3 separate regions of the Homo sapiens genome follow, and regions 1 and 2 are each linked to region 3. Evidence: promoter capture Hi-C in 16 types of primary human blood cells and fetal thymus (Javierre and others, 2016). All regions are on one chromosome and are shown on one strand. The core of a region is centred on a gene start or on the middle of the fragment in contact, and the rest is flanking DNA. Distances in the headings are between cores, read along the strand shown. Region 1 overlaps ACAD10 (acyl-CoA dehydrogenase family member 10). Region 2 overlaps ANKRD13A (ankyrin repeat domain 13A). Region 3 holds the start of SLC25A3 (solute carrier family 25 member 3).

Region 1 (3,092 bases), core at 146-2,645, about 13 Mb before region 3:
CACTGTGCCTGGCCAAGAAGGAAATTTCTGTCCACAAAGAGCTAAGGCAGTGGATGGATCAGCATCAGCATCTGTAGAATACTGGGAACATTTGTGCAAGGACTGTTTCTCCTCATCCACAGTTGCTTTTTCTGTCTATAATACAGATGCTGGGGGCAAATATATACATACAACATTCATAATTATATATCTAAGACAAAATACACTTTACATATAGCTTTTGTTTTGGAATTAAAACACCTTTGTTGTTTTTTTCTGATAAAGTAGTGTCTGTGCATTGAAAATTTTTCAGACAATATATTTCATAGAAAACTATGCAAAAGAAAGTAGGCTGGGTGCAGTAGCTCACACCTATAATCCCGGCACTTTGGGAGGCCAAAATGGGAGGATCGCTTGAGGCTAGGAGTCTGATACCAGCCTGGGCCACATGATTAAACCCTGTCTCTAGAAAAAATTTAAAAATTAGCTTGGCGTGATGGGTTGCACCTGTAATTCTAGCTACTCGGGAAACTGAGGTGGAAGGATCGCTTAAGCCCAGGAGTTTGAGGCTGCAATGAGCTATGATGGTGCCACCGCACTGCAGCCTAGGGACATAGAGCAAGACCCCATGTCTTAAAAAAAAAAAAAAAAAAAAAAAAAGAAGAGGAAGGAAGGAAGGAAGGAAAGTAAAAGGACAAGCAGTCCTATCTTCTTTCAGAAATAACTAATGTTAACAATCTGGTATATGTCCTTTGAAAATAACAAGACTTTTAAAACTCAATCCAAAAAATACTTTAATTTTAGAGCTAAAGCATATAGCATTTTTCACAGTCTCGGAGTTGGCAAGCATGTGAGGAAACCGGCACCATCATATGCTGTTGACGGGAGCGTAAACAAGCACAACCTCTGCAGACAGCAATTTGATAATTTCTGTCAAAATCTGAAATGCACATACATTTGACGTAGTAATTCTACTTTCAGAAATTTCTTCCATATATATTTATGAAAGTAAGCAAAGGTTATGTACAAGGTTGTTTGTGCAGAATTGCTCATAATAAAAAGAACTAGAAAAGTTAAATGTATACTAATAAGGTGTTTATTACATCAATTATGATATATTCATATAACGGAATACCACACAGATGTTAAAACATATAAACTTGCCCAAAGGTCAGCAAAATATGGCTTGGGGCCAAATCTGTCTCCTATCTATTTTTTTAAGAGATGGGGTCTTGCTGTGTTGCCCAGGCTGGCCTCAAACTCCTGGGCTCAAATGAACCTTCACCTCAGCCTCCCTAGTAGCTGGAACTACAGGCACACACCAGCATGCCTGGCTCTACCTATTTTCGTAAATAAAGTCTTATTGGAACACAACCACACTTGTTTACTATTGTCTATTATTGCTTTCTTGCTGCAATGGTAGAAGTGAATAGTTGTGACTGAGAGTATGGCTCACAAAGCCTATCTAGCCCTTCTTTATTTTTGTTTTTTAAGATGGGGTCTTGCTGTTGCCCAGGCTGGGGAGCTGTGGCACAGTCATGGCCCACTGCAGCCTCAAGCTCCCAGGATCAAGTGATCCTTCTGCCTTAGCCTCCTGAGTAGCTGGGATTACAGGTGCGTGCTACCATGCCCAGCTAATTTTTTTATTTTTTGTAGAAATGGGGATCTCACTATGTTGCCCAGGCTAGTCTCAAACTCCTGGCCTCAAACAGTCTCCCACCTCGGCCTCCCAAAGTGCTGGGATCGTAGCCATAAGCCATCACATCCACCATGTCTAGCCCTTTATAGAAAAAGTTTACTAACCTCCAAACTAGATCCTAGACATATGCCAACTGATATGAAAAAGATGGCAAAATATCATACTGAGTCAAAAAAAAGCTATGGAACAGTCTACAGCATATGATCCAATTTGTATATGCCCCCCACACCCACCCCCAACACACACGGGCAATTTTTCAAAAATAAACAAGAAACTTTTCACAATGATAACCACTTAAGTCTGGAACCAACTGGGAAAGGGTCGAGGTGGCAGCAGGAAATTTTATCTGTATTTTATGCTCTTTTAGCAGTGACTATTCAATAAATGGGGTTGGCATAACTAGGTTTCAATATGGAATAGAAATTAAGTTAAATCATCTTTCAGGCCATCACAAAACAAATTCCCAATACAGTAAATATCCAAGTCAGAAAAACAAAATTCTAAAACTTAGAAAATAATATAGAAGGCTGGGCGTGGTGACTCATGGCTAAAATCCCAGCACTTTGGGAGGCAGAGGCAGAGGTGGGCAGATTGTTTATGCTCCCAAGTTCAAGGCCAGCCTGGGCAACATGGTGAAAACCCATCTCTACAAAAAATACAAAAATTAGCCAGGTGTGGTGGTGCGAGCCTATAGTGCAGCTACCTGTGAGGCTGAGGTGGGAGGATAGCTTGAGCCTGGGAGGCAGAGGTTGCAGTGAGCCGAGGTCACTCCACTGCACTTTAGCCTGAGTGGCAGAGTAAAATTCCGTTTCAAAAAGAAAGGAAGAAAAAGAAAACTTTGGTACAGCTAAAAGCATTATCAATAAAATCAAAAGACAAGGCATAAAAGGGAGAAAATATTTGCAAATCATGTAACAGATAAACGGTTATGACCGGCCGGGCGCAGTGGCTCATGCCTGTAATCCCAGCATTTTGGGAGGCCAAGGCGGGCAATCACCTAAGGTAGGGAGTTCGAGAGCAGCCTGACCAACGTGGAGAAACTCCGTCTCTACTAAAAATACAAAATTAGCCAGGGGTGGTGGTGCATGCCTGTAATCCCAGCTACTCAGGAGGCTGAGGCAGGAGAATCGCTTGAACCTGGGAGGCAGAAGTTGTGGTGAGCCAAGATTGCACCATTACATTCCAGCTTGGGCAACAAGAGCAAAAGTCTGTCTCAAAAAAAAAAAGGTTTACTGAAAATCAACAAGAAAAGTGAGCAATTCACGGAAAAACTGAATGACCAATAATATTAAAAAAAAAAAAAAAGGCTCACTACTCAGGAGGCGGGAGAATCACTTTAGACTAGGAGTTCGAGACCAGCCTGACAGCCTGGGCCATACAGCAAGATGCTCTCTGAAAAAAAAAAAAAAAAAGG
Region 2 (3,245 bases), core at 358-2,857, about 11 Mb before region 3:
ATCAATAGTGCTGTGTGAAAAGCTAACAGGGACTTGGGTTACCTCAAAAACAACACCTAAGTGGGAGGTAGTAACATGCCACAGCCTAACTCACAGCCACAACCTTCTCATCCTTTGTACAAAATCAGTCTCTTAAATACAGCTAACCCACGTGGAAGATATACACAACGAAAAGCAAAAACACAGCTGACCTTGGGCAAAGTTCAAGTGACCAAAGCAGGTTTTTGTTTTTTTAGAGACAGGGTCGCACTCTGTTGTCCAGGCTCAAGGGTAGTGATGTGATCGTAGCTCACTGCAGCCTTGACCCCAGGGCACAAGAAATCCTCCCACCTAAGCCTCCTGACTAGTTGGGAATACAGGTGCACACCACCATACTTGGCTTTTAAAATTTTTTGGTAGAGGCTAGGCATGGTGGCTCACACCTCTAATCCCAGCACTTTGGGAGGGCAAGGCTGGTGGATCACTTGAGGTCTGGAGTTTGGGATCAGCCTGGACAACATGGTAAAACCCCGTCTCTACTAAAAACACAAAAACTAGCTGGGTCTGGTGGTGCGCACCTGTAATCCCAGCTACTCGGGAGGGTGAGGCATGAGAATCACTTGAACCTGGGAGGCAGAGGCTGCAGTGAGCCAATATTGTGCCCCTGCACTGCAGCCTGAGCAAAAGAGTGAGACTCTGCCTCAAAAATTAAAAAAAAAAAAAAATTTGGTAGATATAGGATCTCACTATGTTGCCCAGGCTGGTCTCAGACTCCTGGGCTCAATCAGTCCTCCCATCTTGGCTTCCCAAAGTGCTGGGATTATAGGCATGAGCCACTGCACCCAGCCAGTAATTCTTCTAGGGCAAGATTAGAAGACACAATTCAATACTGGTAGTCTTTGACTTTGGCTACTTCCCTTGTTAAAACTTATGGTCAACAAGGTTTATGAAGCTACTTGGGAGCTGGCGGGGGGAGCTAAGCTCACTTACATAGGGAAAGGAAAAGCATACCAGGCTGATGGTGATGTGCAGGGGTCTTCTCCCAGGATGCCTCCCAAAGGGAACATGCTTGCTTTGGGGTCTGGCTCGGAAAACTGAATGGGTCTGGGAATGGGGCCATGGTGGTGGCAGGGGGAAGTGGAGGAGGTAGACTCACATTACACAAGCACTAAGACTCAGGAATAGAACCAGAAAGCTATAAGCTTGAACCAGTGAGGACGCTGGAGTGTGAGCACTGTTCTCAAAGCAGCAGCCCTGTGAGGGCAGGGGCTGCTTCCCAGAGAATTCCCAGCACCTGGCACAGAGCCTGGCACAAAGAAGGTACTCTGCAAATATCTGAATGAAGAATGGAAGAAAAAGCCAATTAACAAATAAATGGACTGCAGGAACCCAGGACACACCAGAGGGTGCTGGAGGCAGACCAGACCCTACCCTAGTAGAGCCAGGAGGCACAGAAGGAAGGAGATGGAAGGAGTTGATGTTAGGGGAGGAGGACCTCAAGCCTTGGACTGTCCCAGGTAGGTGAGGCATGGAGGGAGAACCAGATATGACAATAAAAGGCAACTGTTCTACTGGGCACAGTGGTGCATGACTTTAGTCCCAGCTACTTGGGAGGCTGAGGTGGGAGGATCTCTTGAACCCAGGAGTTTGAGGGTGCAATATGATCATGCCGGGGAACAGCCACTGCACTCCGACTTGGGCAACATAGAGTCACACACACACACACAAAGCCTACTGCTTACACAGGTCTGTCCTGTCCTTCATTTTCTGTTTCACTAGAGACCCAGAGAGAGTTTAGGGAGATGGTACCCTTTGTGGAGGAAGTGGGATTCAAATCCACTTCACTACCTTCATCCGAGACTACTGACACACAGGTAATCCTTCAGGAAAAATATGATACTGCTTCAGTGCTAGAAAATGATGAAGCACATCTCAAAAAGTACAGAATTACAAGCTATGTGCGTGAATATGAGGAAAAGGAAAGTCTGCCTGAAGACATCTTGTGAATGGTGCTGACTGGGATTATGTAGATGGTCTCTTACATAACAAGCTTTTGTAAGAAGACCAGATGCACAAAGTATAACCTATGCAAATACCATGAATGTGTCAAACTTGATATTTAGAATAAATCTTTCAGATTAGCCAAACACTGAGGCTAACCCAGAGGGTAAGACCTCCCACGCCCTGCCATTAGAGTATTCTGATAAACACACCTGGCTCCTGCTGGACTCCAGCAGACTTTGCTGGATGGCAAACTGCATTATCTCGTAATCTTCATCTTGCAAATGCACATTTCTGCCATTGTCTTGAACATAGTAAGATTCGGGAATTTCAAACACAGATTGATCAACCTCAAAGTTTGTGATGTGGGAAGCTGAAACAAAAGGCAACCGTCCAGTGTCTGAGTTCATTACATTTCCACTCCAACTTTTTGCAAAAATGTTGTACATTAGAAAAAAAAGAAAGGCTCAAAATTATAACAATCAAGGCTTACTATTATATGAGAGATTCTGAGGAAGCATGACAGAAAAAAGTGACAGAATACAGCTTTTTTCTTTTTCCTTGATTTTAGTGGAAACAACGAACACAGTCATAAAAAAATACACAAGACTATAAAATGAAAAGCGCAGATTTCTCCCCCTAAACATATACGCACAGTCACACCAATGTGTTTCTTCCTTTTGCAGGAAGATATATGGTAAATATATAAAAGTATATATAAAATATCTGAACACTTAAAAATGATAATAATTAAACAAATGCCTGTGTGCCCTTCACCTAGCCTAAGACACAGAACACTATCAATAACTGCCGGGCGCGGTGGCTCACGCCTGTAGTCCCAGCACTTTGGGAGGCTGAGGCAGGCAGATCACAAGGTCAGGAGATCGAGACCATCTTGGCTAACATGGTGAAACCCCGTCTCTACTAAAAATACAAAAAAAAAAAAAAATTAGCCGGGCGTGGTGGCGGGCACCTGTAGTCCCAGCTACTCGGGAGGCTGAGGCAGGAGAATGGCATGAACCCGGGAGGCGGAGCTTGCAGTGAGCCAAGATCGCACCACTGCACTCCAGCCTGGGTGACAGAGTAAGACTGTCTCAAAAAAAAAAAAAAAAAAGAAAAAGAAAAAAACACTATCAATACCATACTGCGGGCACATCCCTTGTTAACAATATTCCCTTCTTCCTCTCCAGAGGTAAATACATAATTCAGAATAGTTGTTTACACTGCCTAGCTCTTCTCTGGAGCTTGCCACATGTATATCATCC
Region 3 (3,029 bases), core at 203-2,702:
AAGAGCACACTTCAGAGTACAAACGAAACTCAGAAAGATCACTCGACATGTAAAAGGCTTGCAAACAACTTCAAAGTTTATCCCAGCCACTAACCAATACTATCCCCACTTAAGAACTCCTGTAACATAAAAACGGATACGCACAAATTCCTGCAGTCAAATACATTTAATACACAAATAATGTTAGCTTTAACTTTTAAACTGAACGACAGATAGTGTAAATAAGGACTCTATCCATACTAAAGACAACAGAAGCACATGAATGATTTAAAGAAAAAAATCTTTCGATTTTACAGGCACAAGGTAGATAACATTCTTAGGACTCCTACAATTCGGTTTTCAGGTTTCTCTGTATGTACATACTTCACTAGGATTTAAAACACACACAACTAAGTTAAAGCTGGGCCCAACCACCAAGAATCCCAAGAGATAATCACACCAAAGGGACGCCCACCAATTATCTCCTTTCTATTGCCTATGTAGGGCTGCAAGCTGCCTCCTCCAGTCGCACGAAAACAGGACATCTAGTTATCTCATATACAATTAAGTGCAAAAATGACTGACCTGGCGTCGACAAATATAAAACTTAGGAAAGGACTATTTTTAAGAAAACTAAGGGCAAATCAAAGGACAGGTAATATAGTTAGTAGAACTGTGGGTGGTCAGTAGTTTCGGGAGGAGAGTTTACCCAGTACTTAGTTTGCTGACCAAGCGAGCTCACGGCGGAGAAAGAGCTAGTCACGGCCTCTCTTCCCTCGGGCACACGGAGGTCACGAAGGGACACAGGGCCTCAGCGCTTCCACGCCCTTGAGGGAAGGCCAAGGATCTGACACCCGCCTATGGTGGAAAAGGCCGATACCCCAGGGCAAGCAACTGGGCGCCGTCCTACGGTGCAGCGGGCTGGACTCGTCCTTCCCTGTCCTCCAAGCCGGGTCCAGGCCTCAAAGGCTGGGCGGCCCACAAGTAGACCACACGACTGTATTGGGCAGGGTCTGATCTCACCTTCCACGGCGGCGGCTGCCAGGTTGCGAGGGCGGCGGGGCTGGCCCGTGGGCCCTGGGGAGCTGCTGCGGAGGTCCCCGAGACCATCGTGCACCAGCTGCAGATGTGGCGTGTTGAAGGGGTTCGCCCGCGCCAGGTGCGCCACGGACGAGAACATCTTTCTAGGGGAGGAGGGAGCGACGGTTAGAGGACAGGCAAGGCGCCGGTTAACGTTACCGGCGCCCTGGAACCCCAACCGGGGCCTTTTCCTTCCCGTCTCCACGCCCTTGAAGAGGTCACGGCGGCCTTCGAAAGAGGCTGCTCCCGGCTGGGCCCACCGCCAAAGCAGCGGCCCCACAGGAGCTCTGGGCTCCGCTCCCCACACCCGCCACAGGAGAAGGCCCGGCCACACTCACTCCCTAAGATGGCGATCACACAACCACTCCCTTGGAAAGGTTGCGGCTCACAGAGGCCGGACGTCCTCCGGGTCCTAAGATGTGTGCCCTTCGCGCGTCGTCGGCGTGACGCACACAGCGCGCCACTGCAAGTACGCGTCGCCCATTGGTGGAGAAGAGCGCCGAGCCCGTAGCGTCATCGCGTTCTCCTAGCAACCTTATTCCCGCCCCTGCCCGCCCCAGCTCTTCCGCCCGGCTTGTGCGCGGGAGGATTCGTTCTGCGCAGGCGCGCGTTCCGGGTCTATATTTTTTGAGAGGGGTCGGGCTCGAGCTCTTACCCTGCTCGCTTTGTCCCTTCACCTTCAGGTGTCTCTCCTTGACCACGGGCTTCAGTTCGCTTCACTTAAGTGAATCACAGTATCTAGTAGTCACTTAAAAAACAAAACAAAACGCGAATGCTTGATAATATATTTAGGTGTTGGAGTTACAACATCACTGCAGTACTTTGTGTCACAACTTCTGCCATTACAGTACTTTTTAAAATAAGTTCCATCCATTGACATTAAACATAGGTATGTCTGTATTTTTCATCAGACTCCTGGAGAATATTTTAAAAAGAAATGTGCAGCAAGAAGTCTTACGACAGCTTGCCGCGTTATCACAGTAATCTACAGAACACGTTGAAACATTGAACTCCTGAGATGTTACAGCGATGAACTACTGAAAGTGACTGATAGCAGATTGTGCGTGTGTGTGGTTAATACATTTAGGAAGCTTTCATTAGATTCAGCTCAACAGGGAGGGGCGTAGTTTAGTTGGGGAGAGTTTAATAGGGATTCAACCTGTTAGACTTCTGACTCTTATATTTTCCAAGCTCTTGACAAAGTAACCTTGGGAATTTACTTCATCTCTGTGTACCTGTTCCCTAGATGTAAGATAGGGGTGGGACTGGCCTCATAGGTTCACACTGGTACAGTCACACATGGCCTTACACTTCATTTAATGCTCTGCTGTCATTTTGATTTTTTTTTTTTTTCTTTTGAGATGGAGTCTTGCTCTGTCGCCCAGGCTGGAGTGCAGTGGGGCGATCTCAGCTCACCGCAACCTCCGCCTCCCGGGTTCAAGCGATTCTCCTGTCTCAGCCCCCGGAGTAGCTGGGACTACAGGCGTGCACAACCACGCCCGGCTAAGTTTTCTATTTTTAGTAGAGACAGAGTTTCGTCACGTTGGCCAGTCTGGTCTCGAACTCCTGAGCTCAGGTGATCCGCCCACCTCGGCCTCCCAATGTGCTGGGATTACAGGCCTGAGCCACCATGCCCGGCTTGAAATTCTTAATACATGTATGAACAAGGGGCCACGCTTTTTTTAGTTTGCACTGGACCCTGCAAATCAGGTGTCTGGTTCTGGATGGGAGTAATACTTACCTTGCAGAGTCTATGAGAACTCAATGAGATAATGTCTAAAAGTCTACAGAAGATGTTACCTAAAAAAAGTTAGCATTGGCCGGGCGAGGTGGCTCACGCCTGTAATCCCAGCACTTTGGGAGGCCGAGGCGGGCAGATCACGGGGTCAGGAGATCGAGACCATCCTGGCTAACACGGTGAAACCCCGTCTCTACTAAAAATACAAAAAATTAGCCGGGCGAGGTGGCGG

What was found. Contacts are between HindIII fragments. The CHiCAGO score rates a contact against its expected background, and 5 or more counts as called.
Region 1: a fragment that was not itself captured here is called in contact with the fragment with the promoter of SLC25A3 in region 3 in 1 of 17 cell types (neutrophils); the score reaches 8.5 in neutrophils.
Region 2: a contact is called between a fragment that was not itself captured here and the fragment with the promoter of SLC25A3 in region 3, in 1 of 17 cell types (neutrophils). The highest score is 9.2, in neutrophils.

What each region holds. Positions count from the first base shown.
Region 1 is chr12:111,698,296-111,701,387 of GRCh38, reverse strand. All of the region lies in intron 2 of ACAD10 (acyl-CoA dehydrogenase family member 10), which reads right to left. Among named protein-coding and RNA genes, the nearest start is that of ACAD10, 14 kb to the right of the region's middle. The HindIII fragment of the contact is 6,707 bases long and covers 1-3,092 here.
Region 2 is chr12:110,032,905-110,036,149 of GRCh38, reverse strand. It overlaps ANKRD13A (ankyrin repeat domain 13A), which reads right to left. Exons shown (of 15, transcript NM_033121.2): 13 at 2,193-2,353. Among named protein-coding and RNA genes, the nearest start is that of C12orf76, 14 kb to the left of the region's middle. The HindIII fragment of the contact is 848 bases long and covers 1,184-2,031 here.
Region 3 is chr12:98,592,109-98,595,137 of GRCh38, reverse strand. SLC25A3 (solute carrier family 25 member 3) reads right to left here and starts at 1,452. Exons shown (of 8, transcript NM_002635.4): 1 at 1,398-1,452; 2 at 1,003-1,163. The coding sequence starts at 1,159. RefSeq lists enhancers at 413-1,037, 1,361-1,460, 1,038-1,662, 1,711-1,930. The HindIII fragment of the contact is 3,126 bases long and covers 1-2,152 here.